7 separate regions of the Homo sapiens genome follow, and all the other regions are linked to region 1. The links are contacts of gene promoters, found by promoter capture Hi-C in blood cells and fetal thymus (Javierre and others, 2016). All regions are on one chromosome and are shown on one strand. The core of a region is centred on a gene start or on the middle of the fragment in contact, and the rest is flanking DNA. Distances in the headings are between cores, read along the strand shown. Region 1 holds the start of NLE1 (notchless homolog 1). Region 2 overlaps AP2B1 (adaptor related protein complex 2 subunit beta 1). Region 3 overlaps AP2B1 (adaptor related protein complex 2 subunit beta 1). Region 4 overlaps AP2B1 (adaptor related protein complex 2 subunit beta 1). Region 5 overlaps SLFN14 (schlafen family member 14). Region 6 overlaps SLFN12L (schlafen family member 12 like). Region 7 overlaps SLFN13 (schlafen family member 13).

What was found. The method cuts DNA at HindIII sites, captures the fragments that hold promoters and counts their contacts. A CHiCAGO score of 5 or more calls a contact.
Region 2: a fragment that was not itself captured here is called in contact with the fragment with the promoter of NLE1 in region 1 in 4 of 17 cell types (total CD8 T cells, activated CD4 T cells, total CD4 T cells and 1 more); the score reaches 6.9 in total CD8 T cells.
Region 3: a fragment that was not itself captured here is called in contact with the fragment with the promoter of NLE1 in region 1 in 3 of 17 cell types (activated CD4 T cells, total CD8 T cells and total CD4 T cells); the score reaches 6.7 in activated CD4 T cells.
Region 4: a fragment that was not itself captured here is called in contact with the fragment with the promoter of NLE1 in region 1 in 6 of 17 cell types (non-activated CD4 T cells, activated CD4 T cells, total CD4 T cells and 3 more); the score reaches 11.5 in non-activated CD4 T cells.
Region 5: a fragment that was not itself captured here is called in contact with the fragment with the promoter of NLE1 in region 1 in 9 of 17 cell types (non-activated CD4 T cells, naive CD4 T cells, total CD8 T cells and 6 more); the score reaches 14.7 in non-activated CD4 T cells.
Region 6: a contact is called between a fragment that was not itself captured here and the fragment with the promoter of NLE1 in region 1, in 3 of 17 cell types (M2 macrophages, non-activated CD4 T cells and activated CD4 T cells). The highest score is 6.3, in M2 macrophages.
Region 7: a fragment that was not itself captured here is called in contact with the fragment with the promoter of NLE1 in region 1 in 1 of 17 cell types (activated CD4 T cells); the score reaches 5.0 in activated CD4 T cells.

The regions. Positions count from the first base shown.
Region 1 is chr17:35,140,775-35,143,780 of GRCh38, forward strand. It overlaps NLE1 (notchless homolog 1), which reads right to left and starts at 1,529. Exons shown (of 13, transcript NM_018096.5): 1 at 1,484-1,529; 2 at 1,205-1,348. The coding sequence starts at 1,501. RefSeq lists an enhancer at 960-1,837. The HindIII fragment of the contact is 3,765 bases long and covers 1-3,006 here.
Region 2 is chr17:35,644,289-35,647,294 of GRCh38, forward strand. All of the region lies in intron 12 of AP2B1 (adaptor related protein complex 2 subunit beta 1), which reads left to right. Among named protein-coding and RNA genes, the nearest start is that of AP2B1, 58 kb to the left of the region's middle. The HindIII fragment of the contact is 3,257 bases long and covers 1-3,006 here.
Region 3 is chr17:35,615,165-35,618,170 of GRCh38, forward strand. The region is part of intron 5 of AP2B1 (adaptor related protein complex 2 subunit beta 1); the gene reads left to right. Among named protein-coding and RNA genes, the nearest start is that of AP2B1, 29 kb to the left of the region's middle. The HindIII fragment of the contact is 6,619 bases long and covers 1-3,006 here.
Region 4 is chr17:35,594,996-35,598,001 of GRCh38, forward strand. The region is part of intron 2 of AP2B1 (adaptor related protein complex 2 subunit beta 1); the gene reads left to right. It also overlaps the pseudogene LOC100420062. Among named protein-coding and RNA genes, the nearest start is that of AP2B1, 9.2 kb to the left of the region's middle. The HindIII fragment of the contact is 5,699 bases long and covers 1-3,006 here.
Region 5 is chr17:35,555,547-35,558,552 of GRCh38, forward strand. SLFN14 (schlafen family member 14) reads right to left here. Exons shown (of 6, transcript NM_001129820.2): 3 at 1,457-2,560. The coding sequence starts at 2,516. LOC107985033 (a long non-coding RNA gene) reads left to right here. Exons shown (of 2, transcript NR_138032.1): 2 at 1-3. Among named protein-coding and RNA genes, the nearest start is that of SLFN14, 3.8 kb to the right of the region's middle. The HindIII fragment of the contact is 4,309 bases long and covers 1-3,006 here.
Region 6 is chr17:35,514,864-35,517,869 of GRCh38, forward strand. All of the region lies in intron 2 of SLFN12L (schlafen family member 12 like), which reads right to left. It also overlaps the pseudogene TOMM20P2. Among named protein-coding and RNA genes, the nearest start is that of SLFN12L, 21 kb to the right of the region's middle. The HindIII fragment of the contact is 4,488 bases long and covers 1-3,006 here.
Region 7 is chr17:35,442,440-35,445,445 of GRCh38, forward strand. SLFN13 (schlafen family member 13) reads right to left here. Exons shown (of 6, transcript NM_144682.6): 3 at 2,176-3,006; 4 at 1,350-1,481. Among named protein-coding and RNA genes, the nearest start is that of SLFN13, 4.8 kb to the right of the region's middle. The HindIII fragment of the contact is 1,051 bases long and covers 1,047-2,097 here.

The sequences.
Region 1 (3,006 bases), core at 279-2,778:
GAGACTGTTTTCGCCATATTGGCTAAGCTGGTCTCGAACTCCTGACCTCTAGTGATCTGCCCACCTCAGCCTCCCAAAGTACTGGGATTACAGGCATAAGCCACTGCACCCGGCCTGAAATTCTTTATCTGCATCTCATAACAACCGTGGGAAGTAGATACTAATATTCCCACTGACAGTTTTCAAAAGCAGAGGCTCAGAACAACTAAGTAATTAGTTCAATGTCCTATTGCCAATGATTAATTCAGGTTCTTTACGTCCAAGATAGGATTAGCATATAGCATTATGCAGTGTTTCCCAAACTACCACACTACACTATATTTGTGTAAAAAGCTCCCAAAACGCCTGTTAAAAAATGTAGACTTTCTGCTTCATCCCAGAGTTTGGTTTAGTAAGGCTGGGATGGGGTCCAGGAACTGCAATTTTAAGGACCTCCCCTGTCCCCAGGGCAGCTCTTCAGTAAACACACTGGCTTAAAGGTTAAAAGCAAAGGCCGGGTGCGGTGGCTCACGCCAGTAATCCCCAGCACTTTGGAGGCCAAGGCGGGAGGATCACGAGGTCAAGAGATCGAGACCATCCTGGCCAACGTGGTGAAACCCAGTCCCCACTAAAAATACAAAAATTAGCTGGGTGTGGTGGCGCGCGCCTGTAGTCCCAGCTACTCGGGAGGCTGAGGCAGGAGAATCGCTTGAACCTGGGAGGCAGAGATTGCAGTGAGCAGAGATCACGCCACTACACTCCAGCTTGCCAGCCTGGCGACAAAGTGAGACTCCGTCTCAAAAAAAAAAAAAAAAAAGGTAAATAAATAAATAAATAAAAGCATGGGTATTCGGATAGTTTTGGGTTCCAATTCCAAATCTGCTACCTACTACATAGCATCGTGCAAAATACTGAGTCCCTCCGGGCCACGCTGTAAAATGGGGATATTAACGTGTCCCAGACTGGGGGACTGTGACAAAGAATCAATGAAATACAGCATCCGGTGCGTTCAAAGCTAGGCCCCTCTCCGCAGGTGGACCCCTTTGGTTGGCGTGTAAAGCGCTATGCCACTGATTCCATCTCTGACATAGGTGGGAGCTCACGCCAGGTGGGTCACCACAGTCCGTTAGCGGGGGACCATGAACCGCAGACCCTCGGTAATATGATTCCCCCACCGCATCCGCCCGGGGGTGGAGATGCGAGGCCGCCCTGGCCAGCCACTTACCTGGGCCAGTAGCGCGTTGCACACGAGCTGCAGCCTGTCCGGGGTGATGTCCACGGGCACGTCGAACGGGGAACCCAGCAGCTGCCCGCCCTCATCCTGGAACTGCACTAGCAACCGCTGCACATCGCGCGCCACCGCCTCGTCCTGCGCGAGCAAGTGGGGCGGGAGTCAGTCTGGTCGCCCGCCCAGAAGGGCCCCACTTCGCCTCTCTCAGGCCTCAGGGACCCGGGCCCTAGCGCCCCGCGGCGACGCCCCCCGCCCCCATCCACGCACACCCACCGGCACTGCTGCCGCCATCCTGCGTCCCCACGTGGAGGAGAAAGAGCCCGGCAGACAGAGCGCCGTCTCCGTGGTCGGGCGGGGTCGCCGCCGGCCACATCGCCCTCTGCTGTTGGGGAGGAGAAGCGTCCCGCTGCGCACGGCCTCAGGGATTAGAAATGGGCTTACCTGGTGCTCCTCCCGCCCCTCAACAGCCTTCACATTTATTTTTCGCCAGGGTCTTAGAGGACACAGTAAACTTTTGACTCTTCACAACAGGGATTCTTGCCCCATTTTAATTTAATTTCATTTTGAGACAGAGTTTCACTCCGTCGCCCAGACTGGAGGGCAGTGGTGCCACCACGGCTCACTGCAGTCTCGAACTTTCTGGCACAGCGATCCTCCCACCTCAGCCTCAGAGTAGCCTGGACTACAGGCACATGACACCCTGCCCGGTTATTTTTTTCTCATTTTTTGTAGAGACGAGGTCTCACTATGTTGCCCAGGCTGGTCTCAAACTCCTGAACTCAAGCAGCAAGTCCCCCACTCCCCAGCCTCAGTGTCCCAAAGTGCTGGGATTACAGGTGTGAGCCACCACGCCTAGCCTAGAAATTAGTATCCTTTTAAAAATGGATCAAGTCAAGGCTGGGCGTGGTGGCTGACACCTGTAATCCCAGCGCTTTGGAAGGCCCAGGCGAGCAGATCACTTGAGTCCAGGAGTTCGAGACCAGCCTGGCCAACATGGTGAAACCAGGTCTCTACTAAAAATACAAAAAAATTAACCAGCCGTGGTGGCATGCGCCTGTGGTCATAGCTACTGGAGAGGCTGAGGTGGTAGATTCTCTTGAACCTGGGAGGCAGAGGTTGCAGTGAGCCGAGCTCTCACCACTGCACTCCAGCCTGGATGACAGAGCAAGACTCTGTCTCAATAAATAAATAAATAAATAAATAAATAAATAAATAAATAAATAAATAAAATGGATCAACTCAATAATACTCGAGTACAAAAGCAAATCATTTCTACAATCATCAATGCTGTAAAGCAATAATAGTGATAATGACATCAACAAGTCAGGAATTGTTCTAAGTGCTTTCCCACATAACTCATTTAATTCTTACAACCCTTTTCTCCCCATATTACTGAGGAACTGAAGCAGACAGCAATGAACTTGAGCTCTTTTGCCTGAAACGAAGGATCTCCCTTGCCAACTCTCCTCTCTCTCCCTCCACTGCTCAGGCAGTCTCAAGCTCTGCCAAGTCATCCTCATGAACACAGCTTGAATCTGCTCTCCCCATCTCCACTGCCTCACTCTGGTCAGAGTCACCATCATCACCTGCCTGGACCGCTACAACAGCCTCCCGATGAGCCCCCCCATTTCCATTCCTGCCTCTTTCTACCCATTCTCCACGATGCAGCCAGGGTTATCTTTTCAGACCAAAAATCTGGCCTGCTGCTCTTCACCCTCAAACCCTGCGACGGCTCCCTTACATGCAGGAAAAAAAGAACACTCCTTATAATGGTCAATTCAGCCTTGCTATGTCCA
Region 2 (3,006 bases), core at 136-2,635, 500 kb after region 1:
TGAGCATAAGCCCATATGTATATGTGTGTTTGCTAGTTTTAAGGTCTTTGTGGATGATTATTTCATACTATAAATAATAAGCAACTTCTCGAGGCTTGCCTTTTTTCAAGACTGAGTCTAGCTCTGTCACCCAGGCTGGAGTGCAGTGGCGTGATCTCGGCTCACTGCAACCTCCACCTCCCGGGTTCAAACAATTCTCCTACCTCAGCTTCCTGAGTAGCTGGGATTACAGGTGCATGCCACCACGCCCAGCTAATTTTTTTTTTTTTTTTTTCCAGTAGAGATGAGGGTTCACCATGTTGGCCAGGCTGGTCTTGAACTCCTGATCTAATGTGATCCTCCTGCCTTGGTCTCCCAAAGCACTGGGATTATAAGTGTGAGCCACAGAGCCTGGCTGAGGCTTGCTTTTTCTGTCCAATTAATTAATGAAGTCTGAGAAGTTATCATAAAACAGTAAGTATGCTGCTGGGTGCTGTGGCTCACACCTGCAATTCCAGCACTTTGGGAGGCCAAGGCGGGCGGATCACTTGAACTCAGGAATTCGACCAGCCTGTGCAACATGGCAAAATCCCATCTCTACAAAAAATACAAAAATTAGCGGAGCATAGTGGCACACGCCTGTAATCCCAGCTACTTGGGAGGTTGAGGTGGGAGGATCGCTTGAGCCCAGGAGGCAGAGGTTGCAGTGAGCTGAGATCATGCCACTGCACTCCAGGCTGGGTAATACAGCAAGACTCTGTCTCGGAAAAAAAAAAAGAAAGAAAAAAAGAATAAGTATGCCTATGTAAGTCTTTTTACCTGGAAGTTTTCTGTTTTTTCCCCAAGTTTGTGAAATAAGAACCTAAATATTTATGGCTAGTGAGTACCAATTTAAGTTTAGGATGCAATGTGGTCGGCTGAATTGTGTTAACTTAAATTGGTATATGTGCTGCCGAAGCGAGCACATGTTAACTTAAATTGGGTAGTGAGGTTCTGATGATGCTACTTCCACTGATTCTGGACATGACTGAGCAAATTTCTTTCATACTGCTTTTCTTCTGTCTCTATAGTAGAGTTAATTAATACTGTTCTTTACCTGTGCTGAGAATTAAGTGAAGTATATGTGAAATCTTAGTGCTTTTAAGTAAAATGGGAGTATAATTAAAAATATTATTAGTTAGGGGGAAAAACCCAACCCTTGAATCTGAGGCTTCATTTCAAAAATTTATCTTTTTCTCTTACCTGTTACACAGAAATTCAATACAATATTCAGTTCAACTGAGTAAAGAATACAAACAAAGGCCGGGCATGGTGGCTTATGCCTGTAATCCCAGCACTTTGGGAAGCCGAGGCAGGTAGATCATCTGAGGTCAGGAGTTCGAGACCAGCCTGACCAAAATGGAGAAACCCCATCTCTACTAAAAATATAAAATTAGCCGAGCGTGGTGGCATGCGCCTGTAATCCCAACTACTCGGGAGGCTGAGGCAGGAGAATCACTTGAACCCGGGAGGCAGAGGTTGCAGTGAGCCAAGATCGTGCCATTACACTCCAGCCTGGGCAAGAAGACCTAGACTCTGTCTCAAAAAACAAAACAAAACAAAACAAAAAAATGTCTAGACGTTAGTAATTATTCTTTGTGATACATGGAATAGAAGTCTTCATGTTTTTCTGTCTATGAACTAGGGGCCACCATCATCAGAATCATTTGGGCTGCTTGTTAAAAATACTAATTACTAGGCCCTACTTTTGATGTAATGAATCAGAATCTCTGAAGTATGGCCCCTGGGTTCTGCACTTTCAGTGGCATTCCTGGTATGTTAAAATGTTGATGCACATTATAGTTTAAGAATTACTGTTTTAGTGCTGGCCTGGTAAGTATTGTTTTGGGACCTCTTCCCCTGAGGAAGGCCTATGGGTCTAGCAGTACAGTAGATCCAAAGCCAAATTATCTGAGTCACCAAACATTTAATGGCAACTTAAGATTACAAAAAGGTCCTGTATTTTTATTTATCTCGGTCTTGACGGTCTGAATTACTGTGGCCTCCATGTAAAATGTGAGGCAGTTGGTGAGGACTGGCTTACAGTAGGCCTAACAGGTCATCCCTCAGAACGACAGAGTTTGAGCAGTTAGGAGATTCTTCCCTACTCCTGACTTTTCAGCCTTGGGAGATTTGCACTCATTTCTCATAGGATTGTATTTTTCAAGTTAGTGTCTGTTTAGACTTTGATCCAGTAACTCTATCTCCAGTAGTTTGCCATATTGCAGCATTTTGAATAATCTGTAGAGGAACTCTCAAATTTTTTTCATATATATATAATTTTTTTTTTTTTTTTTGAGATGGAGTCTCACTCTGTTACCCAGGCTGGAGTGCGGTGGTGCAATCTCAGCTCACTGCAGCCTCCTCCGCCTCCTGGGTTCAAGTGATTCTCCCTCCTTAGCCTCCCAAGTAGCTGGGATTACAGACATCTGCCACCATGCCTGGCTAATTTTTGTACCCTTTGTAGAGATGGGATTTTGCCATCTTGGCCAGGCTGGTCTCAAACCCCTGGCCTCAAGTGATCAGCCTACCTTGGCCTCCTGAAGTGCTAGGATTACTGAGCCACCGTGCCTGGCTGAGATTTTTGAATTTTGTGAATCCCTATAGGAATTTTTCTTTTTGGTCATTTGGTTAAATTGTTTACATTACATATGGGAGAAATAATTTGAAGAAAAAGCATTTTATTTTGATGAGTATATTATTAAACTATGTATTATAAAGTTGAATACCTTTAAGATATTACTAGTCCATAAAGACAAACTGAATTTTCTAAGTTAATAAGATAAATGCAGTGTTTAATTATGTAATAAAAACCATACTTTACAAATTCTAAAGTACATGTGCCTTAAGGACTGCATATATAGGTTAAAATTTAACGTTTAAGTTACATATAAAAAAATGTGGGAGAGAGGAGTTGCTTCCCTGACCTGATATTTTGAGAAACTTGTATTCTGCTCTTTTAAAAATATCAACTTGTTTTTGTTTTAT
Region 3 (3,006 bases), core at 283-2,782, 470 kb after region 1:
GGCTGCTGTTTGAGTCCTGGCTTGGCTGCTTACTAGAAATGTGGCTTTGAACAAGTTATTTAAAATGAACTTCAGTTGTCTTATATGTAAAACTGAGGTAATAATGCCGATTTTAGTGAATTATTTTGAAGATGAAAGAATAATGTATTTAAAATTTTAAACTTTGCCTGATATATGGTAAATGCTTAATAAACTGCAGCTATTCTTGAGGAAGTGGCCTAACATTATGCACCTTCCGGTTGTTATAATCTTCATTTAGGCATTAGGAAGTTTACTTGTGTGGTGATTTGTTGTCAACCTAAGATGATAAAATATTGAAAAAATGCCATCTGTCTAGATCTCTTTCTAAGAATTTTTGTCAGAATATATTTGGTATTCATGTAGGCTATGTTAAACTGCCTATTAAAGGTAGGCCCAGAATGCATAGAAAAACTTAATGACTTAACTTTATTTAGTACGTTAATTATAGGATTGTTGTTATCCTTAAATATATATTAGTAAGTAACAATTACAAAATTAAAATATTATACATAAATGAAATTTAAAATGTGTAATACTTTTCATATCAAATGTCCATGAAGGAGTTAGAGCTGGCAGAATTTTAGGCACATATGATAATGTCAGTATGTGGTGAGCACTTGATAAGAGTAACATTGAAGGTAATACATTCAGTCTGTATCTGAGTTCCTCAAATTGTGTTTCATATTATAAAAGGAGCTGCTGTTAATTTTTGCAGGATTGAAGTTTGGGTAAGTGGAATCATTGGGGGCTGCTTTGATATGAGGCCAACTTCCCAGCTCTTGAATTTCCCACCAGTTGGTCTGAGTGTATTTCTGTCTCTACTTATAGAGAAAGCAAACACTTTTTGTTTTCCTTTTATAATGTGCTTTGTGGAAATCATTTTCTGTGTATTTTCACTTTTAAAAAATCATTACGTCGTTTTATATTATTATGAACTTAGGTTTTAAAAAATATCTCTTTTTTTTTTTTTTTTTTTTTTTTTTTTTTTTTTTTTTTGGAGACGGAGTCTCGCTCAGTCGCCCAGGCTGGAGTGCAGTGGCGCGATCTCGGCTCACTGCAAGCTCCGCCTCCCGGGTTCATGCCATTCTCATGCCTCACACTTCTGAGTAGCTGGGACTACAGGCGCCCACCACTACGCCTGGCTAATTTTTTTTGTATTTTTAGTAGAGACGGGGGGTTTCACCGTGTTAGTCAGGATGGTCTCAATCTCCTGACCTCGTGATCCGCCCGCCTCGGCCTCCCAAAGTGCTGGGATTACAGGCATGAGCCACCGCGCCCTGCCAAAATACCTCATTTTTTAGAGGAACAATTTTAAATTTACAGAAAAGTTACAAAGACAGTACAGAAAGTTTTCATATACGCTTCAGTCAGTTTCACCTAATGTTAACATCTTACGTAACCGTGGTACATTTGCCAAAACTAGGAAATTAGCATTGGGATGTTACTATTAACCAAAGTAGAATTTCACCAGTTTCAACACTAATGTCCTTTCGCTATTCCAGGATTCAGTCCGGAATACCAAATTGTGTTTAGTCACTTCCTTTTATAATGCATCAGTCTACTCTGTTTGAAGGTAGCTCGAAAACAGAAAAGTGCTTTACAACCATGAAATGGCATTTTTCATCCAGTCACCATAGCATAGTGGTTGAAACTCAGGCTCTAGAACCAAATAGATTTGGGTTTGTATCCTGGTTCTGCTATTTCTTAGACGAGTGGTGTCTCTAAATTTTAGCATCCTCATCTACAAAGTGGAGATTACAAATAGTGCTTCTATCGTAGGATTGTTGTGAATATTAAAGGACAGAGGGCTTGCAAAGCACTTAATACTGGTCCTCATATGGAGTAAGCCCCTAATAATAACAAACACATATCCTTTTTTTTTTCTTAAGAGACAAAGTCTTGCTCTGTCGCGTAGGCTGGAGTGCAGTGGCACAATCTCGGCTTACTGCAACCTCCATCTCCTGGGCTCAAATAATTCTCCCACTTCAGCCTTCTGAGTAGCTGAGAGTACAGGCACATGCCATCATGCCTGGCTAAGTTTTGTATTTTTAGTAGAGACAGGGTTTCACCATGTTGGCCATGCTGGTCTTGAATTCCTGACCTCAAGTGATCCGCCTGCCTCAGCCTCCCAAAGTGCTGGGATTACAGGCGTGAGTGAGCCACCATGCCCAGCAGAAACATATATTCTATATTGTACAGTGATTGTAGTGCCGGATATTAATAATTTTAGAAGGGTTAGTATTTCAGTGGCAAAATTTACTTTTTAATTTTATAAGATTAAAATTTTAAGGTTAAGATTAAAACTTTTAGGATGAAGAATTTTAAAGATTAAATTTTTTAAAGCTCTGAGGGCAACTTACCCACAAATGAAGCTAAATCTAAGAGTACTACTTACTACTTTTACAAGGTAATTATTCAAGGGTGTACGTTTAAAGTAGTTCTCAACAGCAACTTCCTGAAAGCTGGATCTGTTGTGTGTTGTTTTGGTGGTTTGCCAGTATATCAAGGCTCATTTGTCACTTTAAGATGACCTCAAGGCTGTAATTTGGCTGGGGAATACTTTACTCTTAGAAATGGGGAGATCATAAGTGGTGTGATAATAAGTGTTTTATTTTGTTCAAGTTGCAGCTTGCTTTAATGAATTTTAGGGGCCATGGTCCAAATAACTGTGATGGTTATAGGCATGCCTTTTATTTGTTTATCGATATTTATTTGTAGTGTTTTGGCTTTGAGAGTACTTGAATTTTGTTAAATCATATCTTAAACCACTTAAGTAATGAATTTTATTTTTTGTAAACCTTGTTACTATGTAATCAGACTTTCTTTTCATAATGAGATGTGTTGGCTCACTAGGTAGTTTTACCTCTCATTCTAAGGAAGAAGATGGGGAAAAAATGGAATATTCTAGATTGTAATGTAGCAGGCATATTAACAGTTGGCATTCTAGACAGTGTTTTGGATTAAAGTATAAGCCCTAAGTTTTAC
Region 4 (3,006 bases), core at 332-2,831, 450 kb after region 1:
GAATTCTGTGCTTTTGTGTTCAGGAGTCCTTACATTTACCAAAGTATTCCAGACATGGCGCCAACTACCATTCTTCTTTTTCTCTTGTTGCAGTGAGTTGCTTAATTATGTCAGTTTGTTGTCTGTAGCTTTCAGTCTTGGCAACACATCAGAATTGCTCAGCCAGGGAACTTTGAAATAATACTGATGCCTGGGTCTCAACCTCAGCCTGATTTCAGTTGTCCTGGATATGGTCTGGGTGTGAGGATTTTAAAGGTTCTCCAGGTGGCCAGGCATGGTGGCTTATGCCTGTAATCCCAGCACATTGGGAGGCTGAGACAGGAGGATTGTTTGAGTGCAGGAGTTTGAGACCAGCCTGGGCAACATGGTAAGACCCTATCTCTATGAAAAAAAATTTAAAAATTAGCCCTGTACGGTGGTGCACACCTGTAGTCCCAGCTATTTGGGAGGCTGAGGTGGGAGGATCACTTGAGTGCAGGAGGTTGAGGCTGCAGTGAGTCGTGATTGTGCCGCTGTACCCCAGCCTAGGCAACAGAGAGAGACCCTGTCTCAAAAGAAAAAAATTAAAAAGAAAGCTCCCCAGATTATTTTAATGTGCAGCCATGATTGAGAACTACTGCTAGCTGCTAACAGTGCTTGGTAGATTTGATTGGGGGGAGGAGGAGGGAGAAAATATAGGAATTTAATAAAGTTGTAGAATATATGACTTTGCCTCTTTTAGTACCCCTCTTTGGTCCTGCCCAACTTTTTCCTCCTTATTTTTATTACTTACACCTCACAAAAGCCATTAGCCACTTGTCATTCAGTCTCAGCTTTTTCTGATTTTCTTTTGGAAATATGTTTATTTCTTCTTCTGTTAGCATTTTGTGTGCTTTGACGAACAAAATGTCTATAATTATATAAAGGGATACAATTACAATTAAATAGTTATAATTTTAAAACTCTCCTAATTCTTCAAACCTACTCTTGAAAAGTGTCCTGGTGACCTTTTTTTAATTCAGGCATTTGTAAAAGTTTGAGACTGCAGATTGAATCACTGCTAATAAACATCATACTTAAAAAAAATTGATAGATTGTGTTCCCTGTACTTCCTGCAACACCCACCAGAACTGCCACTGAAACATATTCTTTAAATTTATGCTTTTGGAATTGGAATAATTTCTGTTACATCCTGCTTTGATTCTATAACACCTGCTGCTGTTCACAATTCAGACTTTCTGAAACCCCGCCGTTTGTCCTTCACTGTTCCCGGAAGTGAATGAGAGGAACTCTAAGAGCTGGATTTGGCAGGATGGGACATGGTGAAGAGTCCTATGAAGAATGACTCTTTAAAGGGCCCAGCTTTTCTTGCTATGCTACTTTTGTAGCTGTTGATTAAATAGAAATTTTGGAACAATTTTTTTGCCTTATTGGCCATGGATATTGAAACGAAAAAGTGCTCTACTTCTGTGTCTTACTAATTTCATCCTTTCCACATAATGGTTTCAGGCAAATCACGTAGTGTTTGTCCCCACTATTTCTTTCTTTTTTTTTTTTTTGGAGGAGGGGAGGTCAGGTTTTAATGTCCCAGTCCTCGGGCGCCGTCATCCCGCGCCTGCCAGGCCCGGCGGCCATGTCGCTCACTCGGGTGGCGGCCAGCCTGCCTCATCAGGGCCTTCCGCGGAGGCCGCCCCGTCGCCCTCGAGCACCAGCTTCACGTCCAGCTCCAGCTGCCCGGTGTAGAAGCCCACGGCGGCGCACACCCAGAGCGGGCTGGTGGCGAGTACAGCGCCCGCAGCTGCGCCCCCTAGCGTCAGCTGCATGGGCCCCCGCAGCGCTGCCAGGCCCCGCAGGCGCTGCCCCACACCGCACACAGGCCGCCCAGCAGGAAGAAGCCATATGCTGCTTCGTGATCCATGTCACTCTGCATGAAGGAGATAACCCCGATGCCCTATGCCAGGAGGCCATTGTGGAACCAGGAGAAGAAAGCTGTCTCGTGCGCCTTTCGGAGAGGAGCCTGGCGCCTGCACGGTCCAGCTCGGACACAGGTGGCGGCGAAGCCCCGTTGTGGGGGCCGTGGCCGGGGGCGAAGGACCCCTGGGCGCCCCCGCTCCGGGGCCACTGAGGCAGCAGTAGCGACCTCCGGAAGCGGAGACTGTCCCCACTGTTTCTATGCTGGTAAATGAGATCTGGTTGAAAGGAACGACAGGAACAGTCTTGAAGGTGGAGGAAAGTCTTTTGAGGCAGTATGGTAGATGAGCTGGAGGATGTAGATGGAAAGTTGAGATGGGAGTAGTCAACCTCTTTTTCATGGACTTAGTGTTTTTTTTCCGTTTCTTTTAAACAATATTAGGGTTGTTACTTTCTTTTTTATTTTGGTTCCGGCTTCTTGCAGATAGGTGAGCCTGGAGACCAGGCCTTAAAATAGTGGTTACAGTCCCTGACAGTTTACAGTGCGGAGCCTAAGCAGTCATTCAAGATTGTACCTTTGGAAATGACTCCATTGTGTACCATTCTTGGTTTCAAGATTATTCTTGTTTGATTGAATAGCAAGGGCCTTAAAGCCCACTGATTTATTAAAGTACTGATTAAAGTAGTGATTCTCAACATTGGGTGTGCGTTAGAGTCACTTGGTGGAGCTCTTAAAGGTATAAATATGAGTTCTCTTTGACATTATGATTTATTTGGCCCAGAGTGGAGCCTGTACTTTGCTATATTTAGTATTTCTCAGGTAATATTAGTGTGTGGCCAGGGCTGAGAACCTTTGCATTCAAGAGTCAGGAGACACAGTGCTAAGCCCAACTTTGTCACTGACTCTGTGAACTTTGAGCCTCATTTCTTAATCTGTAAAGCCGAGCGTGGGTAAATGAGGTAATACGCGCCTGCTCCCTACCTACGTTTATGTTCTCCTCCAGACTTTAACATTCTGATGGAAGATCATCCTTCATATACTGTTCTCTCCCCATTGTAGCTAGATATAATGAGATTTGGTTTTTCCCACTCTTGTGGTTCTTGAAGATCTGGATT
Region 5 (3,006 bases), core at 343-2,842, 410 kb after region 1:
GTCTCAAAAAAAAAAAAAAATGTTGTTACAGTTGTTTATGTCCCCATCTAAGGTTAGATGGAATCAAAAGTGGCAGGATCTTTAGGGGAGAGGAGAAGAGAAGTGAACTCAAACAAATTAAGAGAAAGAATGACCCAATAAAATTCTCCAATCACTCAAGTTTTGATGAAATCTGGAACATACTGGCCGTGAAGGCAAGCAGATAGGCGTAGTTCGGCCTATAGTCCTTTATGGATTGATTAGGAATCACCAAGGCTGATTCCAATCAAAACTGAAAGGTAAGTGAGAACACCAGGGGTCCTGCTCCCCCCAGCACCCCCTTGCCCTAGCATCTCCTTTTGCATCATTTTCCCCCACTTGGTGGTGCCCTAAGCCCAGTGGCTTAAGGTTATTAGCTCCTAATGTTACTGAAACAATTCAAATTTGTCAACAATGTTTTGCTTGAAAGAATTAGTGGAGTAGTGGAGTCATTTATTTTTATTTTTTTATTTTTATTTATTTATTTTTTTGAGACGGGGTCTCGCTCTGTTGCTTAGGCTGGAGTGCAGTGGAGTGATCTTGGCTGACTACAACCTCCACCTCCCAGGCTCAAGCAATCCTCCCACCTCAGCCTCCCATGTAGCTGGGACTACAGGCATACACCACCACGCCTGGCTAATTTTTATATTTGGGGGAGAGATAGGGCTTCGCTATTTTGGCCAGGCTGGTCTCAAACTCCTGGGCTTAGGCAATCTGCCCACCTTGGCCTCCCAAAGTGCTAGGACTGCGCCCAGCCTCAGAGTTATTCTTAAACAGTGTTTCTCTAGAATATCATCTCTAAAATGAGGCTATTCCAATTTTGACTGGGATGATCAGCCTGCACAATTTTTTCAACAGGTTTATAGACAATAAAAGGAGACCTTTCCTAACTCATTGCTGATGGCATACTGTAACTTTCCTTTAAAAGTTGCTTAGGCTGGCCAGGAGTGGTGGCTCACACCTGTAATCCCAGCAGTTTGGGAGGTGGAGGTGAGTTGATCACTTGAGGTTAGAAGTTCAAGACCAGCCTGGGCAACATGGCAAAACCCCATCTCTATTAAAAATACAAAAATTAGCCGACATGGTGGTGTGTGCCTGTAATCCCAGCTACTTGGGAGGCTGAAGCACGAGAATCACTTGCACCTGGGAGGTGGAGTTTGCAGTGAGCCGAGGTCACACCACTGCACTCCAGCCTGGGTGACAGAGTCTAAAGAAAAAAAAGTTGTTTAGGCCATAGAATCCAAACATTTCTTGACCTCAGTTTATATTCTGAGTCTTTGGAACTAAAAATGTTAGATAAGGAACACTGTAATGGGAGAACACTTATAAGAAAAATAAATTTCTATTTTTTAACTAACATATGTGATCAAATACCCACAAAAGGCAGAGAAAGGGGTTCCTCCCTGCTGATGGGGACAATGACTTCACTTCCCTTTACCTGACTGAGTATCCAGCATCATGACCACCCACTGCTCAGCTGTCAGCCGTGTGACAGAATTGTCTTTCATGATCCAGGAATCTGGGGCCTCTGCAAACACCACGCAACAGAAGGGCTCCACTTGAATCACACAGACATAACCATCCAGGACATCTTTTTGGTACACATTCAGGATTTTTGTAGTGAAATTTACCTTTGGCTTCTCACAGCAGAAGTGGAATGTAGGCAATTTTTCTATGCAGTTTTCGATTTCTTTTTTTAGTAAGTCAGGATTCACTTTTTCCCACTTACATCCAACCACTTCTTTGCTCTTATCATCCACCCCAATGAGGACATATCCCCCTTGAGTGTTGGCAAATGCAGAAACATAATGAGGCAGCATTTCCTTAATCCGAGGTATGACTTTTTTGGTGGTGAACCTTTTAAATTCAACATGTGTTGACTCAGTAAAGTTGAGTTTCTCCTTATACATGAGTTTGTCCTTTTTAAAAAATTCTGAGGCCAATATCCTCATATCTTCCTCTTCCTGAATGCATCTATTGAGAACCTGCTGAGGATGCAACTTCTTCACCCTTGGTCTTCCTCTTTGGGCTCTAAACCCCTTCTCTCTGAGAAGCTCCAGGGCACTGCTAGCACTCAAGTTGATAGCAGAAGTCACATCTCTCCGATACAAATTGGAGCGCAAGCTGCAAATCCTTAGTGGAAGGCTGAAAACATCTGGGCTCCATGACTTCACAAAAATCAGGAGATTGTGCCCCTGCTGCATGTAGTCAAGGTATTTCTGTGAACCTGAAGGAAGGAGCTTTTGAAAAGAAGTTTCCAAATCCTGTCCCAGCCCATGGCATTGGTAACTATAGGTTTTATCATCAATCTCTGCTTTGATCACACCACCTCCAGAATTTAACAGTGCACATATAGCCCGGATAATTCTAGAATTCTCAGATCTTTTCAAACAGCTGTTGGTCATCTTCTTCCTGTTTTCTTCTCCAAAAATCACTCTGCCCACATCTACTATTACCTCAGGATACGGCATTTCAGTATCAGTCTTGAGACTCTCCATTTCAGCAGCCCCTCTGTGCTCCAAACAATAAAAGAAAGGAGTTCCTATAATCAGGACAGAAATATTGTTTCTATATTAATAAGAATTCCAAAGATTACAATATTTTCTTCAAAACTATCAATTACTGGAGATATATTTTAATGTTGGAAGTCATCTCTCTCTATATGTATATTTGTTGTTGTTGTTTGTTTTGGGTTTTTTAGTTTTGTTTGTTTGTTTTTGAGATAGAATCTTGCTCTGTTATGCAGGTTGGAGTGCAGTGGCACAATAATAGTTCTCTGCAACCTCAACCTCCCAGTTCAAGTGATTCTCCAACTTCAGTCTCCCTAGTAGATGAGACTACAGACACGTGCCACCAAGCCTGGCTAATTTTTTTTTTCTTTTTTGTTCTTGCTATTTTTTTTTTTTAAGAGATGGAGTCTTGCTACGTTGCAATCCTCCTGCCTGGGCCTCCCTCCCAAAGTGCTGGGATTACAGATGTGAGCCACCG
Region 6 (3,006 bases), core at 241-2,740, 370 kb after region 1:
AGTTTGTTGTAACACTTGCAGTAACCACTGTGGCTGTCCACACACAGCACTTGGATTTGTCAGGTGGTCTACACCTTTAGCTAGGATCTCTTCACCAAAGCTATATCTCTTCCAGGAAGAATTTCTGGACAGCTTCAGCATCTTTAAGGTCAGCTAACTTGGAAAGCTCAACTCACTCCTCGGCCAGCTTCTGTTTCTTTCTTTATTCTGGACGCCTATTCTTTAAGTTGGGGTCACTTCAGTCTTTTGCGGTCGAAGTAGATGCAGTACCCGATGAAAAGGGCCCCGAATACTCCAGCGGCGATGGCTCCGTTCCGACCCAGCCTCTTCCCCAGAACGCTGAGTGTGGACTGCGGCGGTGGGGGAAAGGAGCGGTTGCCCACAAACCATCCGAGCACAGGGAGCCGCTCAGACCCGACGCCGGCGGGACAGGCACTTGGAAAGCAAGATCCAGGGTTCTGAAGATTAAAATCGTTAGTTCATTTACTATATTTGTGCAAGTTTGAGAGAGAGTCATGTGTATAGGATTACCACTGAGTTTATATTATTTTCTCTATGCCTGGAGAGTGTTTCTTTTGTTTTAGTTTATTTGTTTGTTTTGATTTTTTGCTTGTTTGTTTTTGAGACCTATTCTCGTTCTGTCACCCCAGGTTGGAGTGCAGTGGCGTGATCTCAACTCACTGCCACCTGCGCCTCCCAGACTCAAGCCATCCTTTCGCCTCAGCCTTCTGCGTAGCTGGGATTGCAGGAGCGGCCACCACGCCCGGCAATTTTTTTTTTTTTTTTTTTTTTTTTTGAGATGGAGTTTTGCTCTTTGTTGCCCAGGCTGGAGTGAAGTGGCACGATCTTGGCTCACTGCAACCTCCATCTCCCAGGTTCAAGCGATTCTCCTGACCCAGCCGCATGAGTAACTGGGATTACAGGAGCCCACCACCACACCCGGCTAATTTTTGTATTTTTAGAAGAGACAGGGTTTCACTATGTTGGCCAGGCTGGTCTCGAACTCCTGACCTCGTGATCTACCCGCCTCTGCCTCCCAAAGTGCTGAGATTACAGGCGTGAGCCACCGCACCCCGCCAGTGTTTCTTAAAGAGTTAGCATATTTAAAGAATTGGATGTTTTGGGCTTAATTTCTTATTTTTTCCCTGGGATTCTTAGAGACCCCCTCTACTAGATTTATATAAACACTTAGTAACATCTTCAAACTGATCAATATAGGACCATAGAATTTGAGAGACATTAATATCCTTATTTTCTAATATCCACTGAAGATAGTTTATCTTTCTGAGGAAACTATTTCCCTTAGTTGTCCTTCACATATCACTACCACTTCACAAGAACAAACAGTTTTTGCAACTCTATTACTTCAGCATCAAAAAGGTTGGGGTCCCTACTAGGGGCATGGAATCCTCTAAGATTCTTCATTCCATTTTCCAGCTCCCCAGCATATAGGAACCTCAGTGCACCAGGCATTAGTTGTCCTAAAGCAAAACATTCCATCACTTTGATCAGATTAAAACTCTAACCAGTTCTGCCTTTCCATTCTGGAATACGTGTTTAAGAAGGATAGAACTATACTCCTTCTTTTTGTAGTACAGGATTTGTCAGCCTTGACACTATTGAGATTTGTGGCTGGAAAATTGTTTGTTGTGGGGGGCTATCCTGTACCTTCTAGGATGTTCAGCAGTATCCCTGGCCTCTATCCACCAGGTACCATTAACACACTCCCCTCAAGGGGTGACAACCGGAAATATCTCCAGATATTATGTCCCTTGGAGGGCAAAATCCACCACCCCCTCCACTCTATTGAGAGCCACTGGTCTAGTCTAATGATGAGCAGATTAATTTTAACAATGAGCAGACCTATTTTAATGATCCATATACCAGTGCCATCCAACAGAAATATAATGCAATACATAAATGTGATTTTAATATAGTAAGCACATTTTTAAAAGGTAAAAATAAATAAGCAGCTTTACTTTTAATAAAATATTTTATTCAACTAAATATTTCCAAAATATTATCATTTTGACACGTAATCCATTTAAAAATGATTCATGTAATTTTTCATTCTTTGTCATACTAAGTTTTTGAATCCCAGTGTCTATTTTACACTTACTTGTCATCTCAATTTGCACCAGCCACATAGCAAGCACTAATTTTCTACACATGGCTAATGTGTGCCATGGGCACTGCAGTCATATACAGTGACATCCCGCAAAAGCCAGAATAGTCAACATAAACAAATTAAGAAAACAAACAAATAGCAGTGAGGGCACAGATCTTGGTTTTTGCCATTCTTCAGTAAAAGGAACCAGAGCTTCTTGGAGAAATGGCTGATTTTAGGGCTGGGGCAGAGAAAAAAAAATCACAAGCATTCCTATACACCAACAACAGACAAGCACAGAGCCAAATCATGAGTGAACTCCCATTCACAATTGCTACAAAGAGAATAAAATACCTAGGAATACAACTTACAAGGGACGTGAAGGACCTCTTCAAGAACTACAAACCACTGCTTAAGGAAATAAGAGAGGACACAAATAAATGGAAAAACATTCCAAGCTCATGGATAGGAAGAATCAATATTGTGAAAATGGCCATACTGCCCAAAGTAATTTATAGATTCAATGCTATTCCCATCAAGCTACCAGTGACTTTCTTTGCAGAATTAGAAAAAACTACTGTAAATTTCATATGGAACCAAAAAAGAGCCCATATAGCCAAGACAATCCTAAGCAAAAAGAACAAAGCTGGAGGCATCACACTACCTAACTTCAAACTATACTACAAGCCTACAGTAACCAAAACAGCATAGCACTGGTACCAAAACAGATACATCAACCAATGAAACAGAACAGAGACCTAAGAAATAACACCACACATCTACAACCATCTGATCTTCGACAAAACTGACAAAACAAACAATGGGGAAAGGATTCCCTGTTTAATAAATCATGCTGGGAAAACTGGCTAGCCATATGCAGAAAACAGAAACTGTACTCC
Region 7 (3,006 bases), core at 322-2,821, 300 kb after region 1:
GTTTGTCTGTCTGTCTGTTTTTGAGACGGAGTCTCGCTCTGTCGCCCAGGCTGGAGTGCAGTGGCCCGATCTTGGCTCACTGCAAGCTCTGCCTCCCAGGTTCAGGCCATTCTCCTGCCTCAGCCTCCCAAGTAGCTGGGACTACAGGCTCCTGCCACCACGCCCGGCTATTTTTTTGTATTTTTAGTAGAGACAGGGTTTCCCCATGTTGGCCAGGATGGTCTCGATCTCCTGACCTCATGATCTGCCCGCCTCGGCCTCCCAAAGTGCTGGGATTACAGGCATGAGCCACCACGCCTTGCCTGGTGCATATCTCTTTAACCCACAACCTACAAATCTGGTAAAATGAATGATGTCACCCTTCTATGTATCTCATGGACAGTGGAGCATGTCAACTGAAATGCAATTTACTGAGCCTGAGAAAGTGAAAGCCATGTATTCAATTACTCTTGCACCTTGGATTCTTAATGTGGAATGTTTAAAAACTTTTCTGATAAGCTAATGACTATAAAGCTCTCAGGTAAGTAAAGAAACTATTTGGTGGTAAACAGACCTAAGGAAGGCCTAATATATGAATTACCTTGCCCTTCATAAATGTTTGGACATACGTAGGATATTTGTGTATCATATTCTTTTGTCAAATCTCATACTTAATATGTTCAATGTATGAAGTTAAGCCATTTCCCTCCTTGAAAAATCTAGGTTTCATTTTGTAAGTAGGAACTCCGAGAAAAAAACCTTGCTAAAAAATGTTTGGGCAGCAGGGAGAGGGGTTACATAACATTGTCTATGGGCTTGAATTATTATTTGGTGCCACCTTTGAAGCATTAGCGAGTCGTTCCCTCTAGCCTCTTCCAAAGAGAAATTATTTGTGGTTTTTCTATATTCTTATATTCTACCAGGTGAATGTTTTTATTCCTTTTACAGACATAATTCCTCCATCCTTGAAAAGTAGACCAGAAGTGGCTAGTTATTCCATTGTTCCCCTTGTAGTTGTACTAGATCACTGGTTTCCAAACCCAGCAGGGCATCAGAATAATTTGGGAAGCTTGCCCAAATGCATATGGCTAGGCCTTTCCCCTGGAAATTAAGCGTTCATAAGTTCTTGGTGTGGGCCTGGAGATCTGCATGTTTAACTACCTTCCATGGCATTTCTAATAATCAGCCAGATGTGGCAACCAATGGGCCAGATGATTTCTAAAGGCACCTGAAACTCATCCCCAAGAGGCTTGTGGCATTGTCACTGTGTACACCTGGATCTGCAGGACACAATCTTTCATGGATTTGTTTTCCACGAAATGTATTAAATGACTTCCTTCTCTCCTGATGTAAAAACTGGCAGTCAGTACCTGGAAATAAATGTTGTTGTAGATCAGCTTTGTGTTCCAGACCTTTCTTAGAATACACTGGTCTGCAAAGTGAAGGACTGTCAGATAGACTCAACTGAGACTCAAAGGCCTCAGCAAAGTCTGGAGGAAACTCTGAAAGAAAGAACATTTTAATTTACACTATATGATTTCATGTCTCGCTATTGGAATAGGCTGTACAAGGCTGTGTCTAAATTTCATCTAACATGGTACAAGTCAGGCCACAAAGTCAGATGCTTTACCCTTTCTTGACTCTATGTCCAGGTTCCCAAAGATTCATCATTAAAAGCCCTTTTTCTGATCCTTGAATGGTGTTTCCCCATGCAATATAATGCCCCCTCTTCCATGTTTGAATAGTTCTTTGCTTGAATTGCAGTGGAAAAAAACTCTCTTTAAGTTATAATCATCAGGTTTTTATATCCCTGTGCACGCACCTCCACTAACCTCAACTTAAACAAACCTCAACCAACACTAGCTCTTGTCTCCCAGAGTTGATTTTATGCTAATCTGAGGTACAAGCTAATCACTATTATGAGGCTCCAACAGATTCCAATTCAATGGTTTTATTAAAGGAACCAATTTCCAAGGTTTTTCCTTTGCTTCTTCTTTTGTGGGAAATCACCATTCACAAAATATCTCATTTTGGCTTTTTCTCACCCAATAAAACTTCCCATCTATGAAAAGCATGGAGATTTAGAGAAAGTAAATTTCAGTGGGTGTGAGAAGGTCAAGCTTAGAGAATAAAGAAGGAAGTGGTATTGGGGAAGAGGTAGAAAGGTCAGGAAGGGAGAATCTGGTTCCCTCTTACCTGGATCTGCGTCCATCATTTTCTCTACCCATTCCTCAGTTGTCAAGGGGCGGATGTACTTCTCCCTCACCATCCATGACTTGGGAGCTTCCGAGAACACCACACAACAGAATGCCTTCACTTTAATCACACAGAGATAGCCATACAACTCTTTCCCACAAAACACTTCTACGATTTTGGTGCTGTACTCTACCCGAGGTTTTGAAGAGCAAAAATGAACAATGGGCAACTTAGAAATTGCTCTTGCAATTACATTTTTCAAAGAGTCAGGGTCAACCTGTTCTTTGGCACATCCCAGGACTTTCCTACTCTTATCATCCACTCCAATAAAAAGATAGCCTCCCTCAGTGTTTGCAAATGCAGAGATGTACTCTGGAATTATATTTTCTACATATTGTTGGATATGTTTTGTAGAGAACTGTTTAAACTCTATGGATGGAGACTCAGGAAAAGATAGGATTTCACCATATTCAATAGTGTCAGTTTGGAAAACTTCATATGCAGGATTTGACTCAGATATGTTCTGGTATACAGCTTTCATAATTTTACTAGGTGGAGACCCTTCATTAATCAGATTATATTTGGACTGTCTTTCCTTGGTCTTCAGGAAATCGAATGCCTGTCTTGAATTCATGTGAAGCACAGAGGTGCCAGATCTACAGTATAATGAAGAACTAAGGCTGCAAATGCGGGAATTGAAAGAACCATCTTTAAGGAAAGGATCACCACTCCAAGATTTAACAAAAATATAAAAACACCTTCCGTGTTGCTTAGTCTCAAAGAAAGCCTGCAAATATGGATACTGAATAAGCTTTCTCAAGGATTCTTCTA